Regions from separate parts of the Homo sapiens genome. Here region 1 is linked to region 2. Evidence: promoter capture Hi-C in 16 types of primary human blood cells and fetal thymus (Javierre and others, 2016). All regions are on one chromosome and are shown on one strand. Each heading gives the region's core, a stretch centred on a gene start or on the middle of the fragment in contact. The rest is flanking DNA. Distances are from core to core; before and after follow the strand shown.

Region 1 (5,338 bases), core at 2,249-4,748, 170 kb after region 2:
GTTTAATAACTGTTTTCCATAAACTCGTGCTCATGATATATGACTTTATACTGTATACATCAAATAGTAATATTTTTCTTAATATTTTCCTGTATTATAGAATTTTAAATGTCTTATTTTATGCTGTCTGCCACCTGGACAAATTTGTGAATTAACACTACTTTTTTTTTTTTTTTTGAGACAGAGTCTCACTCTATTGCCCAGGCTGGAGTGCAGTGGCACAATCTGGGCTCACTGCAACCTCCACCTCCTGGGCTCAAGCAATTCTCCTGTCTCAGCCTCTGAGTAGCTGGGATTACAGACGTACACCATCATGCCCAGCTAATGTTGTATTTTTAGTAGAGACAGGGTTTCACTATGTTGGCCAGGTTGGTCTGAAACTCCTGACCTCAGGCGATCCACCCGCCTCGGCCTCCCAAAGTGTTGGGATTACAGGCATGAGCCACCACACCTGGCCTAACACTACTTCTTACGTGAGGACTTAGATTTCACCAAAATAAATCAGACTGCTCCTGTGAACTCTTGCAGATTAACAAAAGTTCGATTTTCTAAATTCTTGATTTAGAATATTAAATAATTATCTGTCCTGAAAGAGTTAATGCAGACTCTAAAGCCCTTATTTCCTCTGGAATAATTTCTAGTGGTTTAAGTGAGAATCTGGTTCAACAGATTTTGGAAATGTGGAGTCATCTCTTCAGTGTATCCTAGGAAGTAAACACCTAATTTACTCAATTTGGGTCTAGATATGATAATTGCACTTAAGCTCATGTCACTGAATCATAATATGGAGAAAAGCATTCTACAATGGTCTTTCTGGTACTTCTATTAACAAATCCCCAAGGATGGAATTAAAAGTGGACCTATCTAGTGTTAGATTAGATTCATGGTATTATAACTGGTTTTTTGTTTGTTTTACATTATTCAGTGGTGACATCTATAGGCCTATGATTAGAAACACTAACAGACTAATGCTGAATTTACCTGTACTATTTTATGACTGGTGTGAGTCTAACCTCATACCAAACATTACTTTTGGTTGATGTACCTGGTGCTACAGGAGAAAGTCAAGTTAGGGAACCAAAAGGTATATGATCAAAGGCCCAATTACCAGAGTGCTTCCAGTCCATAACTTACCGTGATTGGAGGGATGCAAGAGATTTTCGGAAGGTAGACTGCACTTCTAACTGAAGCAGCCTGGGAATATCTGGGTACCCACCCAGCTGGGCCCAGAGTGAATGCATAGATGTCTTCTCTGCTATTGGGTAGCTTGAAGTGGACAGATCAACATTCCAGATGGCCTCTGTCTGGTCCTCTTGTTGCCTACAGAATCAGCATAAATTGGGAACGCCAAATTCTCCTGAGCTCCATAGCCCATCAAAATATATCTTATTCTCCCCTCTTCACTGCCACCTTGTCCTATAATGCCTTCCCCTTGCACTGACCAGCATTAGCTATGCCCACTTTGACAGAGAGATGGATGAAAAAGCAGAATTCGCTGAGTTACCAAAGCTGCATTTGCATGGCTTCACCTAGTAATCCATTTTAAAACTACCATTTTAGCTTCATGGCGTAGAGAGACCACATAACTTGCCCCCTTCCTTCCCAAAGCTCCTGCCTCCTTAAAAAAAAATAGAAGAAAAAGAGAAGATAATGCTTCTAAGTTTCTTTATTAAATATTCTTAAAAGAATTTGTTTTTTAGTAAGAAAGAATCAGCTTTATTTTTAGAGGAACTCACAATCCAATGTTAAATATTTAAGTAGAAATATATGTAAATTAACCTCTTGCCAATTTAGCTAAGGGAATTAATACTCTTTTTTTTTGAGACAGAGTTTCGCTGTTGCCCAGGCTGGAGTGCAATGGCACGATCTCGGCTCACCGCAACCTCTGCCACCCAGGTTCAAGCGATTCTCCTGTCTCAGCCTCCCAACTAGCTGGGATTACAGGCATGCACCACTATGCCGGGCTAATTTTGTACTTTTTTTAGTAGAGATGGGGTTTCTCCATGTTAGTCAGGCTGGTCTTGAACTCCCGACCTCAGATGAGTCACCTGCCTCGGCCTCCCAAAGTGCTGGGATTACAGGCATGAGCCACCGCGCCCAGCCTAATACTCCTTTAGACTCTCCATTGCACCATTTGATAATTGTGGAGAAAGGGAAGTTCTTGGGCAGGGAAAAAAAAATTAGGTCCCACATATCGTCCAAAGTTTAATATCAGTCTTTCTAGCACATACCTAAATTTCTTGCATATGTCAGAGGTTCTGTCCTCTTCCATTAGTAATTTTAAGAATGGCTTTTGAACAAATGTGGTAGAGGCAGGTATCTGCTTTTCTTCGATGATTAAGGGGATAGGTTGACTAAGATTCAATTCATGTATCTTTTTGAGCTATAAAAAAAAATAGATCAGAAAAAGGAAACCATGAAAAGAGACAGAATCTTTAGAAGGGTCTTCAGAGCTGGCCCTAGACTAAACTGTGACTCCTCCTTTTCCATGGATTTGCAAATCCTCTCCCTACTCCACCCACCTCCAACATGCATCATTTTAGAGGTGGCAGCTCTGCTACATAAAAACCTTTGTCCTACTTAAGCTTAAGTCCTGGTCCTCTTATTTTCTTGCTGTGAGACTTTGGGATAGTTGCTTAATTTATCTGCACTTCTTTCTCCTCATTTCTAAAACAGGGATAATAACACAGGGTTGTGAGAATTGTAAAACACAGTATATATGGAAGCACTTTATAAATTGTGATGCAGTATGCAACTGTAATGATAGCCAGCATTTACTAAATACTTAGTGAATGTCAGACACTGAACTAAGCATTTTCCATATATTAGCTGATTTGGTATTTATAACAACCTTATGCGGTATGTCTTATAATTACCCTTGTCTTACAGCAGGAAAATCTGAGGCTCAGAAAATGTAAGCGGCTTGCATAAAGTCACTTAGCTAGTATGTAGCTAGCCTGATTTGAACCCAGACAATCTGGTAGCGGAGCTAGCCATCTTGACCACCATGCTGATTCAGTGCAAAGTATTCATTCATATCTAACCTCTTATCCCTTTTGCTTTTTTTGTCTCCTTTCTCCAAGCCTTGATACCCATACCTCATCCTCTGGATTCTGGCTTCCCTGGCCCCAGACCCTTATTCCTCCTCTGAAATGCCCTAGGCATTGTGATTCCTGTTAGATAACGCATGTTGCTGCCAACCCATCTTGCTTTACTCTATGTACATTGGCCATATTTGCCAAATCAAAAAAAGGAGAATATTCATTTTTTTGACAAAGAGCTGTAATATTTAAAATATAACTGTTCTGGGCCGGGCACGGTGGCTCAAGCCTCTATCCCAGCACTTTGGGAGGCTGCCATGGGCGGTTCACTTGAGGTCAGGAGTCCAAGACCAGCCTGGCCAACATGGTGAAACCCCATCTCTACTAAAAATACAAAAATTAACCAGACATGGTGGCAGGCACCTGTAATCCCAACTACTCGGGAGGGTGAGGCAGGAGAATCACTTGAACCCAGGAGGCGGAGGTTGCAGTGAGCCGAGATCACGCCACTGCACTCCAGCCTGGGTGACACAGTGAGACCTCATCTCAAAAATAAATAAATAAATAAATAATAAAATAAAATATAACAGTTCTGAAAATTTACAATATATGTTTGACTTGGATTAGGCTCTGATGAGAAGCCTCTCTGTACCTTCCAAAGTAGCAAGTAAACTAATCTTATAAATTAATCGATTTTAAGGAAAGACAAGGATATACAGATATAAAATGTTTCTAGAACCACAGCTTGTAATATTTACTATAAGAACTCAGGCCAGGCGTGGTGGCTCACGCCTGTAATCCCAACACTTTGGGAGGTTGAGGCGGGTGGATCACCTGAGGTCAGGAATTCGAAACCAGCCTGGCCAACATGGTGAAACCCCATCTCTACTAAAAATATAAAATTTAGCTGGGCATGGTGGTGGGCGCCTGTAATCCCATCTACTCGGGAGGCTGAATCAGGAGAATCTCTTGAATCCAGGAGGTGGAGTTTGCACCGAGTCGAAATAGTGCCACTGTACTCCCTGGGAGACAGAGCAAGACTGTCTCAAAAAAACGAAAAACAAAGCAAAACAAAAAAAAAGGCCATTTGAAAGATGGAGGCGGAGATTGGAATTATGTGGCTACAAACTGAGGAATGCTAAGGATTGCCCATAGCCACCACAATCTAGGAGAGAAGCATGCAACAGAATGCCCTCTCAGAGCTTCTAGAAGGAACCAACCTGGCAGACACCCTGATTTCACTAACTTCTGGCCTCTAGAACTGTGAGAGAGTAAATTTCTGTTGTTTTAAGCTATGAAGTTTGTGGTAATTTGTTACAGCAGCCCAGGAAAGTAATATGACATGGTGTCTCCAGGTAAATGTCATTTACAAAGCTTACCACTTTCATGTTTTTACAACATGCTGGACAGAGGGAGTGGAAAGCAGGTTACCTGGTTGAATACGTGTATCATTTTCTTCAGGCACTGATTCCGTTTCTGCCCTAGAGACTTCTGCTTCTCAGTCCAGACCTGCATCACCTTTTTCCCGTAGTCATCAAGTCTGCTCAGCATCATGTGGAGGTTCCTGGCCTCATAGCCTTTCCCAGTATTTTGGATGGCTTTTAGTCGTTTCATTATGTTGTTCCTTGAAAAGATTAATAAAAATTAGAGCGATAATAGTTGCAGACCCTACTTCAACAAACTTGTCCTCAGTTTCTTTTTTTTTTTTGAGACGGAGTTTCGATCTTGTTGCCCAGGCTGGAGGTGCAATGGTGCAATCATGGCTTATTGCAACCTCCACCTCCTGGATTCAAGAAATTATCCTGCCTCAGCTTCCTGAGTAGCTGGGACTACAGGTGCGCACCACCATGCCCAGCTAATTTTTGTATTTTTAGTAGAGACGGGGTTTCTCCATGTTGGTCAGGCTGGTCTCAAACTCCTGACCTCGTGATCCACTTTCCTTGTCCTCCCAAAGTGCTGGGATTACAGTCCTGAGCCACTGAGCATGGCCTCTTTTTAATTTAATTTTATTTTTTTGAGACAGAGTCTCACTCTGTTGCCCAGGCTGGAGTGCAGTGGTGTGATCTTGACTCACTGCAACCTCTGCCTCATGGGTTCAAGCGATTCTCATGCCTCAGCCTCCCAAGTAGCTGGGAATACAGGTGTGCACCACCACGCCCAGCTAATTTTTGTATTTTTAGTAGAGATGGGGTTTTGCCATGTTGTCCAGGCTGGTCTTGAACTCTTGACCTCAAGCGATCCTCCTGCCACAGCCTCCCAAAATGTTGGGATTACAGGAGTGAGCCACTATGCCCAAC
Region 2 (5,457 bases), core at 877-3,376:
CCCCGTCTCTACTAAAAATACAAAAAATTAGCCGGACATGGTGGCGGGCGCCTGTAGTTTCAGCTACTCGGGAGACTGAAGCAGGAGAATGGCGTGAACCCGAGAGGCGGAGCTTGCAGTGAGCTGAGATCGCGCCACTGCACTCCAGCCTGGGCGACAGAGCGAGACTCCGTCTCAAAAAAAAAAGAAAAAGAAAAAGAAAAAAAAAAAAACCTTGCTACACTAAGTTCCTGAGGGCCAAGGAAAGCCATTTAGATCTTTGGGTTTCATTTGCTTCACTTAAGCATCTTTATTTTTGCACTTGAACGTCTGGCAGAGCATTTTGATGATGATGATGCACAAATACTACGAATAAATGGATGCGTGACTAGCTAAATAGAACACAAGATTTTGAAAGACTTGAGTCAAAAACAGTAGGCAAATCAAAGAAGCAATCCCAAACAGATGCTATCTTTCAGAAATTAACAGATTATTTCACCTGCAACATATTCCCATCCTAGAAAGGGCATTCCTGCATTACAATCATTTATGCTTGGATAAAGGCAAAACGAACAGATGTCCAAGAACCACCCTCATTACCTGAGGCCTATGGCAGAAACATGTCTCCTTTCTTGGAGTCTGAGTAGACTTGATCAAAATCACCCACAGGTATAAATTCACATTATAATATCACACACCAAAGCCTCAGTGAATATCTTTATCTTGGACAAACATATGATCCATTCACTTAAAGGTGAAATCATGTGGTTGAACAAAGTATACTGCAATTCTGCTAAACTCATTTAGAAGCTGGCTCAAGGCCGGGTGCGGTGGCTCACGCCTGTAATCCCAGCACTTTGGGAGGCAGAGGCGGGCGGATCACTTGAGGTCAGGAGTTACAGACCAGCCTGGCCAACATGGCGAAACCCCGTCTCTACTAAAAATACAAAAAGTAGCCGGGCGTGGTGGCGCGTGCCTGTAATTCCAGCTACTCGGGAGGCTGAGGCAGGAGAATCGCTTCAACAGGGGAGGCGGAGGTCGCGGTAAGCCGAGATCGTGCCATTGCACGCCAGCCTGGGCAACAAGAGCGAAACTCTGTCTCAAAAAAAAAAAAAAAAAAAAGAAAAGAAAAAAGAATCTGGCTCAATATAGCTGTCCTCTGATAAAGCCCTGTGGCTCTCCTCCATCCCTTCGAACACACTCCTCCTTCCATTTCAGGCCCCAAGGCCTGTTCTGCAACTAATCTGACATCTTTCCATTACTTTGGAAGCCTAGGGCTCCACCACACCCTATCCCAACCAGATTTCTACCCTCCTACCAACAAACGTGCATGAGTTGACATACCAAACCAACTCTTAGGGCCAAACTAATCCTGTTCCCCCCAATTCTCGGAAACTCAAGCGTCCTAACAAATCTTAAGAGTCTGATGAGTCCATTCCTTTCCCTTGGAACGTCTGGCCCTTGCGTTGACCCCTCGGCTTCCATGGTCACAACTAGCTCTGGTTCTCCTGGCCCCTTCCTATCCCTCTCTTCGGGGCCTCTGCCAGAGCTCACACTGAACCTGTTTCCTCATCTGTAGGACCCTTGGAGGTTGGGAGGAGGCCTATATGACCCCCCCAATCCAACTCCGGATCTAACATTGAAGGGGCCCAGCATTCCCCTAGACCCTCACTCTTTCTCTTGCCCACGCCCCAAACTCCTTCTCCATCTAGGCTACCACCTCGCCCACGCGCCTAGCATCACCCGCCGCGGCCCAAGCTCCCCCAGCCCCTGCTTCCGGGCTTTCCTTGCAGTTCTGCTTCCGGCCCTCGGCCCTTCCCACAGCGGGGCGCCCCCGGCCCGCGCCCGGCCCCCGAGCCGCTCGCTCCCGGGCTCTCACCGCTCGAAGAGCAGCCTCACGAAGAAGATGCCCGCCGCCAGCGGGAACACCGAGAGGATGTGCCGGCCGCGGGGGTAACCGTAGCCGTCGGCCGGCCCCTCCAGATCAGCCCAGCTCACGTTCTCGGGTAGCCAGAAGCGCTCGCTCCACAGCCAGCCCCACAGCAAGCTTAGGGGTCCCTGCGCTGCTGTCGCCATCTTACGCCCACCCCGAAGCCACCGCCGCCACAAGCGTCAGCTGCCGCCACAGCCAACGGAACCCGCGGGGAGGCGGCCCCAGGGCGGGGCCCGGCCGGCGGCCACCCCCTTCCGGCCCCTTCTGGTCACTGCCACGGATCCGCCCGCCTCCCTGGCAGGGCCGGGCCTCTTCACCGCCCATCTCTCCTCCCGGCCCACTTCCCTCACTGCAACCCGGGGACCGCCTCCGGGGATCCACGCCCCTTCCCGAGCCTCTGACTCGCCCAGCCCGGCCCTGGGACCACGCCTCGGGCGGCCCTGGGCCCGCCCTCTTTTGCTGCTGGTCTAGGCCACGCTTCTACTCCTCCCTCACTCTTCCATCCAGCTACGGCCACACCCCTTATTTCAGGCCTAGCTCCTTTACGGGGACATTCTCCTTTCTCAGCCTGTTGGAATCGAATCCGTTCCGGCTCCCACCCAGGCGGTACCTCTGTCTCCACTCCCGGAGGCCAGATCGATCTCTCAGGTCAGGGCTTCTCTTGGATGTCAGCTGGTCCTGCCCACTACTGTCCGCCACTAGAGTTCTTTTCGCTCCCAACCTTTTCTTCCCTTCGTGCCCCGTGACCTCAGCCTACTTTCACTGCTTTATCCCTTAAAAATTAGTCACTTTTCCTCAGAAAAAATGGACTTAACAGTTTACAAAAGGCCGGGCGCGGTGGCTCACGCCTGTAATCCCAGCACTTTCAGAGGCCGAGGCTGGCGGATCACCTGAGGTCAGGAGTTCGAGACCAGCCTGGCCAACATGGCAAAACCCCGTCTCTACTAAAAATACAAAAATTAGCTGGGCCTGGTGGCGCTGTGCCTGTAATCCCAGCTACTCGGAAAGCTGGGACAGGAGAATCGCTTGAACCTGGGAGGCGGAGGTCGCAGTGAGCCGAAATCGCGCCATTGCACTCCAGCCTGGGCGACAGACCAAAGACTCCGTCCCAAAATAAAAATAAAAAAAGTTTACAAAAATCCTTTTATTCTTCTCTTGGGGAAAAGGAAATGGAAGAAAAACAAAGTGAAAAGGGAAGCACTCAAAAAGTATACGTAAAGGCAGGCCGGGTGTGGTGGCTCACGCCTGTAATCCCAGCACGTTGGAAGGCCAAGGCGGAAGAATCACCTGAGGTAAGGAGTTCGAGACCAGGCTGGCCATGGTGAAACCCCGTCCCTACTAAAAATACAAAAATTACCCGGGTGTGGTGGTGCATGCCTGTAATCCTAGCTACTCGGGAGGCTGAGGCAGGAGAATTGCTTGAGGCGGAGATCACAGTGAGCCGAGACCACGCCATTGCCCTCCAGCCTAGGCAACAGAGCGTCTCAAAACAAAAACAAACAAAAAAAGGCCGGGCGCGGCTCACGCCTGTAATCCCAACACTTTGGGAGGCCGAGGCGGGCGGATCATGAGGTCAGGAGATCGAGACCATCCTGGCTAACACGGTGAAACCCCATCTCTATTAAAATACAAAAAATTAGCCAGGCATGGTGGCGGGCGCCTGTAGTCCCAGCTACTTGGGAGGCTCAGGCAGGAGAATGGCGTGAACCCGGGAGGCGGAGCTTGCAGTGAGCCCAGATTGCGCCACTACACTCCAGCCTGGGCGACAAAGTGAGACTCGTCTCAAAAAAAAAAAAAAAAAAAGTATATCTAAAGGACCTAAAGGCAAAACAAAATAAATAGCCAATGTTTGATGAGGTTTCCTGTGTGCCAGGCACTGCATGGAACATTTTACACAGGTTATTTCACTCCTTCACCCTATAAAGTTGATCTTGTTATCCCCACTGGATAAGTAAACTGAGGTCCAGTGAGGCCAAACAACTTGCCCAAAGTTATGTAGGTAAGAAGTGGTAGCTAGTGTTAAGTCAAGTTTAATCTAAAGCTGCCTCCTTACATATTTAAGTTCGGCCTAAAGGTTTTCTGTACATTGTGAACTGTAACAAGTGGAGGTGTAAATCGAACGTAGACCACACCAGTGCCAATCACTGAATTTTGGCCAATCAAATGTAGCCAACTGTTCCAACCACGTTCAAATGAGACAAACGCTGATCTGTAACCAATCTGGTTGTTTCTGTACCTCACTTTCATTTTGCTGTCCATAAATCTTCCACCACGTGAATATGCTGGGTCTCTGTGGATATGCTGGGTCTCTCTGAATCTGCTGTGATTCAGGGGCTGCCCAATTTGAGAATCATACATTGCTCAAACTCCTTTAGGCTGGGCACGGTGGCTCACGCCTGTAATCCTAGCACTTTGGGAGGCCGAGGCAGGCGGATCACAGGTCAGGAGATCGAGACCATCCTGGCTAACATGGTGAAACTCCGTCTCTACTAAAAATACAAAAATTAGCTGGGCGTGGTGGTGCGTGTCTGTAGTCCCAGTTACTTGGGAAGCTGAGGCAAGAGAATCGCTTGAACCCAGGAGGCGGAGGTTGCAGTGAGCTGAGATAGCACCACTGCACTCTATCCTGGGCAACGGAGTGAGACTTTGTCTTGGAAAGAAAAAACAAAACAAACAAACAAACAAAAAACTCCTTTAAATTTGGCTGTTTTGTTTGTTTGCATGTTTTTTTGTGAGAAGGAGTCTCACACCCAGGCTGGAGCGCAGTGGTGCCATTTCTGCTCACTGCAACCTCCACCTCTGGGTTCAAGAGATCCTCCCTTCTCAGCCTCCCGAGTAGCTGGGACTACAGACACGTGCCACCACACCCGACTAATTTTTGTATTTTTTGATAGAGCCTGGGGTTTCACCATGTTGGCCAGGCTGGTCTCGAACTCCTGACTTCAAGTGATCTGCCTGTCTCAGTATCCCTGTTGGGAATGAAGTTTTTGGTGTTGCAAAAAGAAAAGAAAAGAAAACAAAACAAAAACAAAAAAACACGGGAACAAATGATCTCTCAGCAAGGAGAGCTTTACTTTCTGCAGAAAGGGTGCTGCTACTCAAAAGCTGTCTAGCCATGAGAGCACACCGAACAAAGGAGACAGAGTTATTTATAATCTGAGGTGTCTACCCTACTGCTGTGTCCATTTTCCATTGGCTGGAATAGGACCTCACATTTTACACTTTACCTGATTGGCTATTAGTTTAAAACTTTTAAAATTGGTTAAGGGGAACAGAACAAAGAAAGAAAAGGAAGTTGCCCAGGGATCATTAAGGAAGCATCACCAAATAAGGAATGGCATGCACTGTGGGCTGGGGCTTGTCTAGTTCTGTCCAGGCATGCAGGAGCAATCTAGGACAGCTGATTTGGAATACACACACACACACACACACACACACACACACACACACACATACATACACACACACACACACACACAGTGGATAGCAATCTTATAGTAAGAAATTGTGACTTTTTATAATCTTTGAAGAACTTTCCGATTTCT

The links. The method cuts DNA at HindIII sites, captures the fragments that hold promoters and counts their contacts. A CHiCAGO score of 5 or more calls a contact.
Region 1: a fragment that was not itself captured here is called in contact with the fragment with the promoter of CERS5 in region 2 in 2 of 17 cell types (M1 macrophages and M2 macrophages); the score reaches 6.3 in M1 macrophages.

Annotation. Positions count from the first base shown.
Region 1 is chr12:50,329,439-50,334,776 of GRCh38, forward strand. FAM186A (family with sequence similarity 186 member A) reads right to left here. Exons shown (of 8, transcript NM_001145475.3): 5 at 4,473-4,665; 6 at 2,232-2,383; 7 at 1,135-1,320. Among named protein-coding and RNA genes, the nearest start is that of LIMA1, 49 kb to the left of the region's middle. The HindIII fragment of the contact is 1,830 bases long and covers 2,584-4,413 here.
Region 2 is chr12:50,165,243-50,170,699 of GRCh38, forward strand. It overlaps CERS5 (ceramide synthase 5), which reads right to left and starts at 2,127. Exons shown (of 10, transcript NM_147190.5): 1 at 1,859-2,127. The coding sequence starts at 2,055. It overlaps LOC124902931 (a long non-coding RNA gene), which reads left to right. Exons shown (of 2, transcript XR_007063304.1): 2 at 1-381. RefSeq lists enhancers at 1,474-1,613, 2,504-2,663, 2,715-3,476 and silencers at 1,754-1,903, 2,004-2,403. The HindIII fragment of the contact is 9,101 bases long and covers 2,025-5,457 here.